Regions from separate parts of the Homo sapiens genome. Here regions 2, 3 and 4 are each linked to region 1. Evidence: promoter capture Hi-C in human tissues and cell types (Jung and others, 2019). All regions are on one chromosome and are shown on one strand. Each heading gives the region's core, a stretch centred on a gene start or on the middle of the fragment in contact. The rest is flanking DNA. Distances are from core to core; before and after follow the strand shown. Region 1 holds the start of SST (somatostatin). Region 2 has its middle 48 kb from the start of TPRG1-AS1. Region 3 overlaps LOC107986167 (a long non-coding RNA gene). Region 4 has its middle 13 kb from the start of TPRG1-AS1.

Region 1 (3,030 bases), core at 296-2,795:
CCCACTTTGTGCTTAGTCTTGGCTGGCCTTGTCAAGACCTGGAAACTTTAACACTTCTTGCTGTGCATTTCCGCTTTGCCTTGGATTACAAGCACAAAAAGAAATAGTGACAATTATTCAAGCCATTCAGGATACTTCCCAAACCCTTCTGCCTCTCAACACTGTGGTTCGGGTCTAAGTACTGAGAATATTTTAATACCTAATATGAGCTTCGCATGGTTTCCAGAGATGCAGCATATCTTTTTAGCTAATATTGGCTTTTTTGAAGCTCATAAGATAACAGCTCTTAAAGATCCTGTAGGGATCATCTCGTCCATGCTAGGAAATTAGCTGGTCCTTCCTCAGTAAGGAACTATTTAGATAAAAGCAGTCAGAACTCTGGCCTGAACAGTAAACATTTAACCAGAGTTCAATCAGAATTCAAGGACAGGTTTTCTTAAACTTTCTTTGTTTCTAGGAGATCAGGCAGAGCTGAATTTAACCAAGAATCTTTTGATCCTTTCCACATATAGATATACAATAGTGGTCACATATGTTCTGGGAGTTCCTAGACCTTATATGTCTAAACTGGGGCTTCCTGACATAAAACTATGCTTACCGGCCAGGAATCTGTTAGAAAACTCAGAGCTCAGTAGAAGGAACACTGGCTTTGGAATGTGGAGGTCTGGTTTTGCTCAAAGTGTGCAGTATGTGAAGGAGAACAATTTACTGACCATTACTCTGCCTTACTGATTCAAATTCTGAGGTTTATTGAATAATTTCTTAGATTGCCTTCCAGCTCTAAATTTCTCAGCACCAAAATGAAGTCCATTTCAATCTCTCTCTCTCTCTTTCCCTCCCGTACATATACACACACTCATACATATATATGGTCACAATAGAAAGGCAGGTAGATCAGAAGTCTCAGTTGCTGAGAAAGAGGGAGGGAGGGTGAGCCAGAGGTACCTTCTCCCCCATTGTAGAGAAAAGTGAAGTTCTTTTAGAGCCCCGTTACATCTTCAAGGCTTTTTATGAGATAATGGAGGAAATAAAGAGGGCTCAGTCCTTCTACTGTCCATATTTCATTCTCAAATCTGTTATTAGAGGAATGATTCTGATCTCCACCTACCATACACATGCCCTGTTGCTTGTTGGGCCTTCCTAAAATGTTAGAGTATGATGACAGATGGAGTTGTCTGGGTACATTTGTGTGCATTTAAGGGTGATAGTGTATTTGCTCTTTAAGAGCTGAGTGTTTGAGCCTCTGTTTGTGTGTAATTGAGTGTGCATGTGTGGGAGTGAAATTGTGGAATGTGTATGCTCATAGCACTGAGTGAAAATAAAAGATTGTATAAATCGTGGGGCATGTGGAATTGTGTGTGCCTGTGCGTGTGCAGTATTTTTTTTTTTTTAAGTAAGCCACTTTAGATCTTGTCACCTCCCCTGTCTTCTGTGATTGATTTTGCGAGGCTAATGGTGCGTAAAAGGGCTGGTGAGATCTGGGGGCGCCTCCTAGCCTGACGTCAGAGAGAGAGTTTAAAACAGAGGGAGACGGTTGAGAGCACACAAGCCGCTTTAGGAGCGAGGTTCGGAGCCATCGCTGCTGCCTGCTGATCCGCGCCTAGAGTTTGACCAGCCACTCTCCAGCTCGGCTTTCGCGGCGCCGAGATGCTGTCCTGCCGCCTCCAGTGCGCGCTGGCTGCGCTGTCCATCGTCCTGGCCCTGGGCTGTGTCACCGGCGCTCCCTCGGACCCCAGACTCCGTCAGTTTCTGCAGAAGTCCCTGGCTGCTGCCGCGGGGAAGCAGGTAAGGAGACTCCCTCGACGTCTCCCGGATTCTCCAGCCCTCCCTAAGCCTTGCTCCTGCCCCATTGGTTTGGACGTAAGGGATGCTCAGTCCTTCTAAAGAGTTTTGGTGCTTTTCTGGGTCCCTCAGCTCCCGAAGCTCTTGAGAAAACTATCAAAGGCTAGAATCCCCTTCTAACTCTTTTTTTCCCCCATGATAAGCGCAGTCGGTCACAGTTCAGGTGAGTTCTTACTTGGCATTCAAGAAAATTACAAAATCTGGGTAGTTGTCTGGGCACGAAGCGACAATGGCGTCTATCCCTGGTGCTGACCCTGGGAAGCGCTGACCCAGGTGCTGAAACGCAGACCTCTGAAGCTGCTACCTCTTAGCGTACCTCACTTCCAAACGTCGGGACTAGGGCAAAGGGGCAATCTAAAGACCGAACGCCGTATGTTTGAGATTGTGAGAAGTCTCGTTCCCCTACAGTTTACTTGGTAAAAATGGTAAAACAATTCTACTTTGTAGCTCGTGATGTGAAAATTGAATTAAACTGTTGGCACACACTTTATCTTACCAGAACGGTCTTTATGTGTGTGTGTGTGTGTGTGTGTGTGTTTGTGCGTGTGTGTGTGTGTGTGTGTGTGTTAAGTCTACAGGGACAGAAAGGTTGCAGAAACATTTGAGCTCTTAAAGCCTTTTTGTGTAACTTGGTAATTATAGCAACTATCCTTATTTTTATATCCTTGATTGATTTTAAATGTGACAAAAAATGCGCAGCTGTAAAAACTGGATTTTGTGTGTGACCAAATCTGTTCTTTAATTTAGGCTTTTCAAATTTTTTCCATTGTCCTCCCCACTTCTCTTTCTCTCTTTTTCTATCCCTTCTGCCCTATACAGGAACTGGCCAAGTACTTCTTGGCAGAGCTGCTGTCTGAACCCAACCAGACGGAGAATGATGCCCTGGAACCTGAAGATCTGTCCCAGGCTGCTGAGCAGGATGAAATGAGGCTTGAGCTGCAGAGATCTGCTAACTCAAACCCGGCTATGGCACCCCGAGAACGCAAAGCTGGCTGCAAGAATTTCTTCTGGAAGACTTTCACATCCTGTTAGCTTTCTTAACTAGTATTGTCCATATCAGACCTCTGATCCCTCGCCCCCACACCCCATCTCTCTTCCCTAATCCTCCAAGTCTTCAGCGAGACCCTTGCATTAGAAACTGAAAACTGTAAATACAAAATAAAATTATGGTGAAATTATGAAAAATGT
Region 2 (2,867 bases), core at 165-2,664, 1.3 Mb before region 1:
TACTTCATAAGAAAAACATTTTCCTATAGCTTTCCTCAGAGTTTGATGTATTTAAAAATCTGAGGAAAGATTTTCTGAACTGTACAGAAAGTAAGAGAGTATTTAAAGAGGACCATCTGATGGAGCCAGCGATTACAGTGAGAGCCCCAGGGGAAAAGTGACACATAAGGCAATAGAATGGATGCTTCTCAGCTTAGAAATTATTCTACCTATGTCAAATCTTGAAAATGTTTGCTAAAGAAAAAAATGCATAGAAGGAGGGAGAGAGAGAAGAAAACATAAATGACATGAATTTAAAAAGCACTTCTGGCCGGGTGCAGCGGCTCATGCCTGTAATCCCACCACTTTGGTAGGTTGAGGCTGGTGGATCACGAGGTCAGGAGTTCGAGACCAGTCTGACCAATTTGGTGAAACGCTGTCTCTGCTAAAAATATAAAAAATTAGCCAGGTATGGTGGCACGCGCCTGTAATCCCAGCTACTCAGGAGGCTGAGGGAGGAGATTCACTTGAACCTGGGAGGCAGAGGTTTCAGTGAGCCAAGATCGCACCACTGCACTCCAACCTGGGTGACAGAGTGAGACTCAGAAAAAAAAAAAAAAAAAGAGAAAGAAAGAAAGCACTTCGAACTGGCACTGACGAACCTCACTTGCTTTGAGTTGTTTTTCCAGCAAGGAAAATAGTTTGTGCCAGTGTACCTACCCTCTAGCACCAAGTCCCTCTTGTAGTCATGTTGCTCATAGCTAAGAGGTATCTCACAGTTTAAGACTCAATTTCAGTAGAAAACATATTTAATTAATTTCAACATATTTTCCAGATTAAACGTTAAAGTAAAATACAAATAGATGGAGATGCCATTTTTATTTCTGATCTTTTTGTATATGGCATCTTCTCTCCTAGTAGCTTTTAGAAAACTTCTCTCTGTCCACAGTATTCTTGGTCTTTTTTTCACTTCTTATGATAGCCATGACATGTACATCTTCAACCTGAAAAATCAGGTCCTTTGGATCTGGGAATTTTTTTTCAATCATTGATTGGGTAATTTCTTCTTCACTGTTTACTCTGGTCTTTATTTCCAGAGCTCCTGATAGTTGACTCTTTGAGGATATGGTTTAGTCTTTCAATTTTCTTCTTTATTCTATTAACTATGTCCTTTGTCTTTTTTATTTTAATTTCCCGGTTATGTCTGTATTCCAGCCATTCTTCAGACCTTTTTATTACATATTTTTAATCTCCCAAAGCTCTTTTTTATTCTCCAGTTGTTCTTGTTTCTTGTTTGGTTTTTAAAGATATGAAACATCATATTCTTATTTCCAGAATATTCTATATTTTTATATCTCTCTGAGGATATTGTTTATAATTTTAATTGGCTTCTTTCATTATATCTACTTTAATTATTTTTATTTGTTATTGTATTTTATTTATTTAGTCTGTTTTGTGAGAGGCTTTCCACAGATGCTTTTCTTTTTTCTTGGAATTGTCTGTTTCCTTTGACAATTTTTCTTTAACTTCGATACATTTTTCTTGTTGCTATTGAACAGCTCTTTATATATTAAGGATATTAGCTCTCTGCTTTAGTATGGTCATAATTTTCTTAGCAATTAATTACTTGCCTCATTAAGACATCTGCATAGAAAATTTTAATTGCTATTTGGTTATATTTAGTGATCATTTTATCTTGGTGGTTTCAGTAATACTTAGACAAACCTTCCACAATGGAAGATTATATTTTATAAAATGTAGGTTTTTCTAAAATTTCAATGGTTTCTCTCATTTTTTACATTGATATTATTCGTTCCTACAGAATTAATTTTGGTGTAAAAAGAAAAGATTTCACTTCCTTTTTTCCCACACAGCTAGACACATGTATCAACATAATTTATTGAGAAATACACTGATTGGAAACGTCATTGGTATCAGTTAGGGTTGTATTTGGCTGGATATTTTATAAGCCTTACCAAAGTCATTAAATTAAAAAGATATTTTCCAACATTTAAGCAGAGATCCACAGATGAAAAGTGCTGGACTGTTTTTGCATTGCCATTACTGTCTCTAAAATCCTGCTCCTTATATCTTTATTCTTACAGTTTCCTCATGTGATGTAAAGGCTGCTCAACCCCTCACCTAAAATCAGTATATTCAGACAAGAAGGAAGAAGACAGAGCAGAAAAGGAGGGGAAAAACAAGGAGAAGGAGGATGAAGAAGAGGATGTGATGGTGGTGGTAATAAGGAGAAATAGGCAATGCCTTTAACAGGAAAGGACCTGTCCCTAAACCCCAGTAGACAGCTATTTACATCTTCTTTAGAAGGCTGTATCTTATGGACATATTTGCTGCAAGAAAGGCTAGGAAATGATTTCTAAAGCTGGACATATTGTTACCTTAAGCTTGTATGCGGCTCCCATTAGTAAAAGAAAAAAGGACAATGGATGTTGGATATATAACTAACAGTTGGGTACCAATTGCTACATGCACTTGATGGATGATTTAGTGCATTTGGTTGTGTATAAAATAATAATGCAGAGTATTTTATAAAACAGAACATCTGGAAACAAATTAGTTATATGTATTTAAAAATAAGAAAAATTAATAAACAAGGCAACTATTGACTTCAGGGAAAACAAAGAACTGTATAAAAACTCAAGCAATCATAATTTATTATTTATCTTAACAATAAACCTTGCTTTTACAGTCATAATAATATAAACATTGAAATCTTTCTGACTTCAGAAGATAAGAAAAAATATTTCAAACTTAGCCTTTAAAGTTCAATTTATTCATCCTTGCTCAACTCCTGAGCCCCAGGTTACAATGCATCAAGAACCTCCCTGAGGAGACTAATAATAACTAATATCACAGACACCCTGGGT
Region 3 (2,785 bases), core at 146-2,645, 1.4 Mb before region 1:
TAAAAATACAAAAAATTAGCTGGGCGTGGTGGCACATGCCTGTAATCCCAGCTACTTGGGAGGCTGAGGCAGGAGAATCACTTGAATCCGGGAGGCGGAGGTTGTGGTGAGCCGAGATCACGACATTGCACTCCAGCCTAGGCAACAAGAGCAAACTTCCATCTCAAAAAAAAAAAAAAAAAATTAGCTGGGTGTGGTGGCACATGCCTGCAGTCCCAGAATTTTGGGGAGGCTGAGGAGGGAGGATTGCTTGAGCCCAGAAGCTCCAGGATGCAATGAGCTTTGATTGTGCCACTGCAGTGCAGCCTGGGAGCCTGGGAAAGAGAGTGAGACCCTATCTCAAAAAAAAAAAAAAATTTGAATCAGTGGACTGGGAGAAGAAGACCCACCCACAATCTGGGTGGGCACCATCTAATCAGCTGCCAGCACAGCTAGGATAAAAGCAGGCAGAGGAATGCGGAAGGACTAGACTGGCTGAGCCTTCTGGCCTCCACCTTTCTCCTGTGCTGGATGCTTCTTGCCCTTGAACATCAGACTCCTAGTTCTTCAGCTTTTGGACCCTTTGACCTACACTAGTGGTTTGCCAGGGGCTCTCAGGCCTTCAGACACAGGCTGAAGGCTGCACTGTCGGCTTCCCTGCTTTTGAGGTTTTGGGACTCAGACTGACTTCGTTGCTCCTCAGCTTGCAGATGGCCTATTGTGGGACTTCATCTTGCGATGGTGTGAGTCAGCACTCCTTAATAAATTCCCTTTCATATATACATCTATCCTGTTAGTCCTGTCCCTCTAGAGAACCCTGACTAATACAGTGATTGAACACTTAATTTCATGATTTTATGACTCTTATTTTATTGAAAGCAAAATGAATGAAATACATCCATATCCTCAAGTGTAAATGGATTTTAATCTTCAATTAATTTCATAACGGTAACAATATTTGTGCCTTTGAACTTTTCATTATGGATCAGATCACTTATTCCTGAGAAGTTAAAGTGTTTCCACTATAAAGCTGCTGATGTCATCCTTCAACTGGAAGGAAAGTTGTAATCTCAGTATATTTGCTTCAAATACTTCTTGATTAGGCTGAGGAGTTAGTTATTAGCTCATGTTAAGAGAGGAACATATATTAATTAGGACTCTCCCAGGAAAGAATGAACCAGACAGCAACAGCTATCTCCTGTTAGGGAAGCAAACATTGGTCTAGCTGCAACATTCAGCTACTGGAACTCCATAATACACACACACACACACACACACACACATGCACACACACACAGACACGAGGAATCCAAACATTAATGAAAATGTGTATCCACCGCCAGCCATCTTTCCCTTTTGTTTTCCAATACTATGAGATATGAATTGCATGTCTTGCAAATACTATGAGATGTGAATTGCATGTCTATGAATTGTGGGGATAGCTTACAGCTGAATAGCTCATTGACAGACTGACACACCTTCAGGCATTGAGTATCCTTCACCTCACCCCACCTATAGGACCGTAATGTACCTATGCCCCACTTGGTAACAGAGCCCGGTACTTGCTTTTCGCTTTTGTTTTGTTTTTAGAGTCAAGGCAAGGCTTTACTAGTTTATGATTCATGTAACTTGGATAAAATCACTCAATCTACGTGTCCTCATTTGTTAAACAGCACAATCATATTTTTCTTAGAGGACTGCTGCAAGGATCATATGAGAAAATGTTTGCAACTATTCTTGGTAAAGCATGTGCACATATTGTCTGTTACTGTAATTTAACATGTTTTATCAAGCATCTACTATTTCTGGGGCAAGAGAAATGACAAAAATATGGTTGGCTTCCTTTGGGGGTGCGAAGTCTCTCCTGAAACATTTGGGTAAGGTCAAGTGTTGCGTAACTATTTGTAGCAACTGTGTGGACTTAGGAAGTTTCCTCTTACGCATGATGTCAGATAATGGGCTGTATCTAGATACTACACAGGAAACATAGGTTTACAAGACCAGCATCCATTTAGGCCACATAACAGTGTTCCAAGTGGAGGGTGGAGGAGAGATGGCAGTTCTGAGAGAAACGCATAGTGAGAGACAGAAAGCTTAGTTAATGAATAGCTTTCTCTAGATTCTGATTCAGAATAAAAGAAGTTATATTTAACCTAATTAAGCAAAGTTACTTTAATTAGGTTGAAATCTTTAAGTTGCATACATGGAAAAGATCCTTGGACTTTCTCAGTTTCTTGTCAGAGGAAAAGAAACATGAGGAATGACAAGCTGAGTGGAATTCTGAGGCAAGCCTGAGTAATGAAACAGCTAAAGAACAGGGCATTCTCAAAGGATGGCTCCTTATTTTTATGATAGAATATATATTGAGCAGAAAGTTTCTTAATTCAGTAAGACCCCTTGACAAGCTCATACGTATTGGTATTTCTATTGGTACTTTATAAAGCCACATTTTTATGTATAGGTTAATAGTGTCCATTATTAGAATATCTAATTTATAATAAAATAATTGTTGGCAATATTCACTGAGCACCTATTATGTCTTCAACGCATGGTACATTTTTTTCTTTTCTTTTTTTTTTGGAGACGGAGTCTCACTCTGTCACCCAGGCTGGAGTGCAACAGTGCAATCCTGGCTCACTGCAACCTCCGCCTCCCAGGTTCAAGTGATTCTTCTGCCTCAGCCTCCCAAGTAGCTGGAATTGCAGGCATGTGCCACCACGCCCAGCCGTTTCACCACATTAGCCAGGCTGATCTCAAACTCCCAATCTCTGGTGATCCGCCTGCCTCAGCCTCCCAAAGTGCTGGG
Region 4 (2,792 bases), core at 118-2,617, 1.3 Mb before region 1:
AAAAAAAAGTAAATAATGATAGGTAATACTTACATAGCATCTATGATACAGCAGGCACTGTTCTGAGAGTTCTACTTATTAATATATTAGCTCACCTAGTCTTTGCAACTCTGAGATAGAATGCTGTTTTCATCTAACCTTTACAGGTGGGTAAGCTAAAGCTCAGTGAGATTATATACTTACCTGGGGTCACATAGCTCACAGGGACAGAACCAGGATTTAACTCAGGTGCTCTGACACTACAGTGCTGTGCTAACCTACCATGCTACAACGCTGCCCATGATTATGGATATTAATCCACAGGCTTCTTTCAACTTTATATTCTGAGAGCTGAAACATAGGCTTTTTACCCCTAATTAATATGGCATGTCTTCCTAGACAATATATATTCTAATTACATTTTTAATATCTGTCATTTGTAATGATTCAGCTTCTGATAAGCTTGTTAACTGAATGTCATTTTTTTCTCCACCTAAACTACCTTTGGAAAGTTCACACACATCATGCAGTTATTTATGATTTGAGGAAGAGCATCATATATGTAAACTAAAAAATGTTTATTAAAGTTAGAATTAATAATGATTGATTTGATTTCACTGATGAGTTAATTGGGGAAATGAACAGGTAATTGGGTATTTACAAAAGAAGGTCAAGAATGGTTTGTGGGAGTAGTCAGTCAGATCCATTTCCTAAGCTTTTGCTCAGCCTTTCCTTCCTAAAACCCAGCCTGCTGGGGAGCAGGAAAAGAAAGCAAGGCACCGTACATTTGCTTACGACTGACACACTTTTCTCACAAAAGCTGTGCTCTGATCTGATCTACTCTGACACCTCCAAAGGCACTTTTGTCTACAGAATAAAACCAAACCTCATCTGTTTCTCAAGGGTCCTCCGCACTCGTCTGGCTCCAGACCGCTTGTTCATGACTGTCTTCCAATAAGCTTCAGACCCTTGCCATTCCCCCAAAAAGATTTTTCCCCCCAAAATCTCTAAGCTCTCCATTGCTCCAACAGGCCCTTCCCTCTCTAATTCTGCCAAAGTTCTAGTAAGTTTTCAAGACTGTTTCTGGGGTGTCCAATCTTTTGGCTTCCTTGGGCCACATTAGAGGAAGAATTGTCTTGGGCCACACATAAAGTACATTAACACTAACAGTAGCTGATGAGCTTGAAAAAAAAATCACCGGCTGGGTGTGGGGGCTCACGCCTGTAATTCCAGCACTTCGGGAGGCTGAGGCAGGTGGATCGCCTGAGGTCAGAGTTCGAGACCAGCCTGGCCAACATGGTGAAACCCCGTCTCTACTAAAAATACAAAAATTAGCTGGGCGTGGTGGCAGGTGCCTGTAATCCCAGCTACTTGGGAGGCTAAGGCAGGAGAATCGCTTGAACTCAGGAGGCAGAGGTTGCAGTGAGCTGAGATCATGCCATTGTACTCCAGCCTGGCGCAACAAGAGCGAGACTTTGTCTTAAAAAAAAAAATCACCAAAAAATCTCATAATGTGTTAAGAAAGTTTATAAATTTGTGTTGGGCCAAATTCAAAGCTATTCTGGGCTGCATGAGGCCCACGGGCCATGGATTATACAAGCTTGGACTGTACCTTCTCTACTTGTATGTCCCACATACCCTCAGTTCAGAATTAGCTTTTTCTTTCTTCCATTTCCAATGGCACAAAATAATACTTCTATTTTAGAACTGATCCCTCATTATGTTGCACTGAATTTTGTATGTGTGTCTACTTGTTCCACCAGAGTGAGCCCCTAAATAGTAGGGTGAAGGTCACATTCATCTCTGAATGGTCCTTCATTAACATAGTTCCTGGCAAGAGGAAGTTTTCAATAAATTTGGTTTACTTGAATTGAGCTTCTTATACAGCAGAGTGAAATTATTTTGTGACTACAGTTTGAGAGCATACTCCCCAAGGCTAAAACGGACAATGAACTTTTTTCAACTAACTGTAAGATAGTATAAGCCATCAATCTCTTAAAGCCAGAGGGAAATTCACCTTTAAGCACTTGGAGATTTATTTAACTAAAGGAGTCATTCCACCAGAAAGCATCATTGTGATTTCTCTCATTATCTAAAATGAATAAGAATTATTATAATGATAAATTAGTGGCAGGAGACACTGATTTTTAGAAAGGAAAATTAATAATGCACAGTGAATAAAATCTCATTTAGATGTTCTTTGCACATGCTCTCCAATAATAATCATTCAATTTATAGCACTTTACAGTTAGTGCATCCATATATAATTTCATCTTCACATCAACACAGAAAAGCTAGTCTCATTGCCAACTTACAAATAACAAAACTGAGTCTAGGCAGGCAAGGAAACAAATAACTATTAAGTACCAGAGTTGGGTCTCAAATCCAGGACCCCTGACTATATCCTGGGTTATCTTCTCCCAGGCATTGCCAGCCCAGGAACCTCCCAAGGGTAAGTCCTGCAGATGAGCAGCTTCCTCTCCAGGCCCCTGGGCATCCTAGTCAGAGGCCTCTGTGTATCTGTGCCACCCCAGCTACACTTGGTAGAGCACACTTGAGGTGTCTCAGTGCTATAGAACCACCCACTTCAGGGTGTTTCACTGTGCATAGTCCTCTTAGGCCTCTAATGACATTTCAGAAAATTACTTTCACTTTTTTAATCAAAGTCCCCTGCCTTTACGAAACAATCAGTGTCTGACTCTCTAAATCTCTTCTTCCTATCATAATTGCCATCCCCAGTAAACTGCCTTATTTTTTTCAAATATCTTCTTTCAAAATGAAATTAAGCTTTGGGAGGCCAAGGCAGGTGGATC

The links. Contacts are between HindIII fragments. The study calls those that stand out against the background at their distance.
Region 2: a fragment that was not itself captured here is called in contact with the fragment with the promoter of SST in region 1 in 1 of the 25 tissues and cell types used here (IMR-90 fibroblasts).
Region 3: a contact is called between a fragment that was not itself captured here and the fragment with the promoter of SST in region 1, in 1 of the 25 tissues and cell types used here (aorta).
Region 4: a fragment that was not itself captured here is called in contact with the fragment with the promoter of SST in region 1 in 1 of the 25 tissues and cell types used here (hippocampus).

Annotation. Positions count from the first base shown.
Region 1 is chr3:187,668,909-187,671,938 of GRCh38, reverse strand. It overlaps SST (somatostatin), which reads left to right and starts at 1,545. Exons shown (of 2, transcript NM_001048.4): 1 at 1,545-1,785; 2 at 2,662-3,027. The coding sequence starts at 1,648. The coding sequence ends at 2,874. The HindIII fragment of the contact is 6,645 bases long and covers 1-3,030 here.
Region 2 is chr3:188,994,622-188,997,488 of GRCh38, reverse strand. It overlaps a transcript of TPRG1 not described here. Among named protein-coding and RNA genes, the nearest start is that of TPRG1-AS1, 48 kb to the right of the region's middle. The HindIII fragment of the contact is 7,765 bases long and covers 1-2,867 here.
Region 3 is chr3:189,083,925-189,086,709 of GRCh38, reverse strand. All of the region lies in intron 2 of LOC107986167 (a long non-coding RNA gene), which reads left to right. It also overlaps a transcript of TPRG1 not described here. Among named protein-coding and RNA genes, the nearest start is that of TPRG1, 87 kb to the left of the region's middle. The HindIII fragment of the contact is 4,807 bases long and covers 1-2,785 here.
Region 4 is chr3:188,933,236-188,936,027 of GRCh38, reverse strand. No RefSeq gene overlaps it. Among named protein-coding and RNA genes, the nearest start is that of TPRG1-AS1, 13 kb to the left of the region's middle. The HindIII fragment of the contact is 3,806 bases long and covers 1-2,792 here.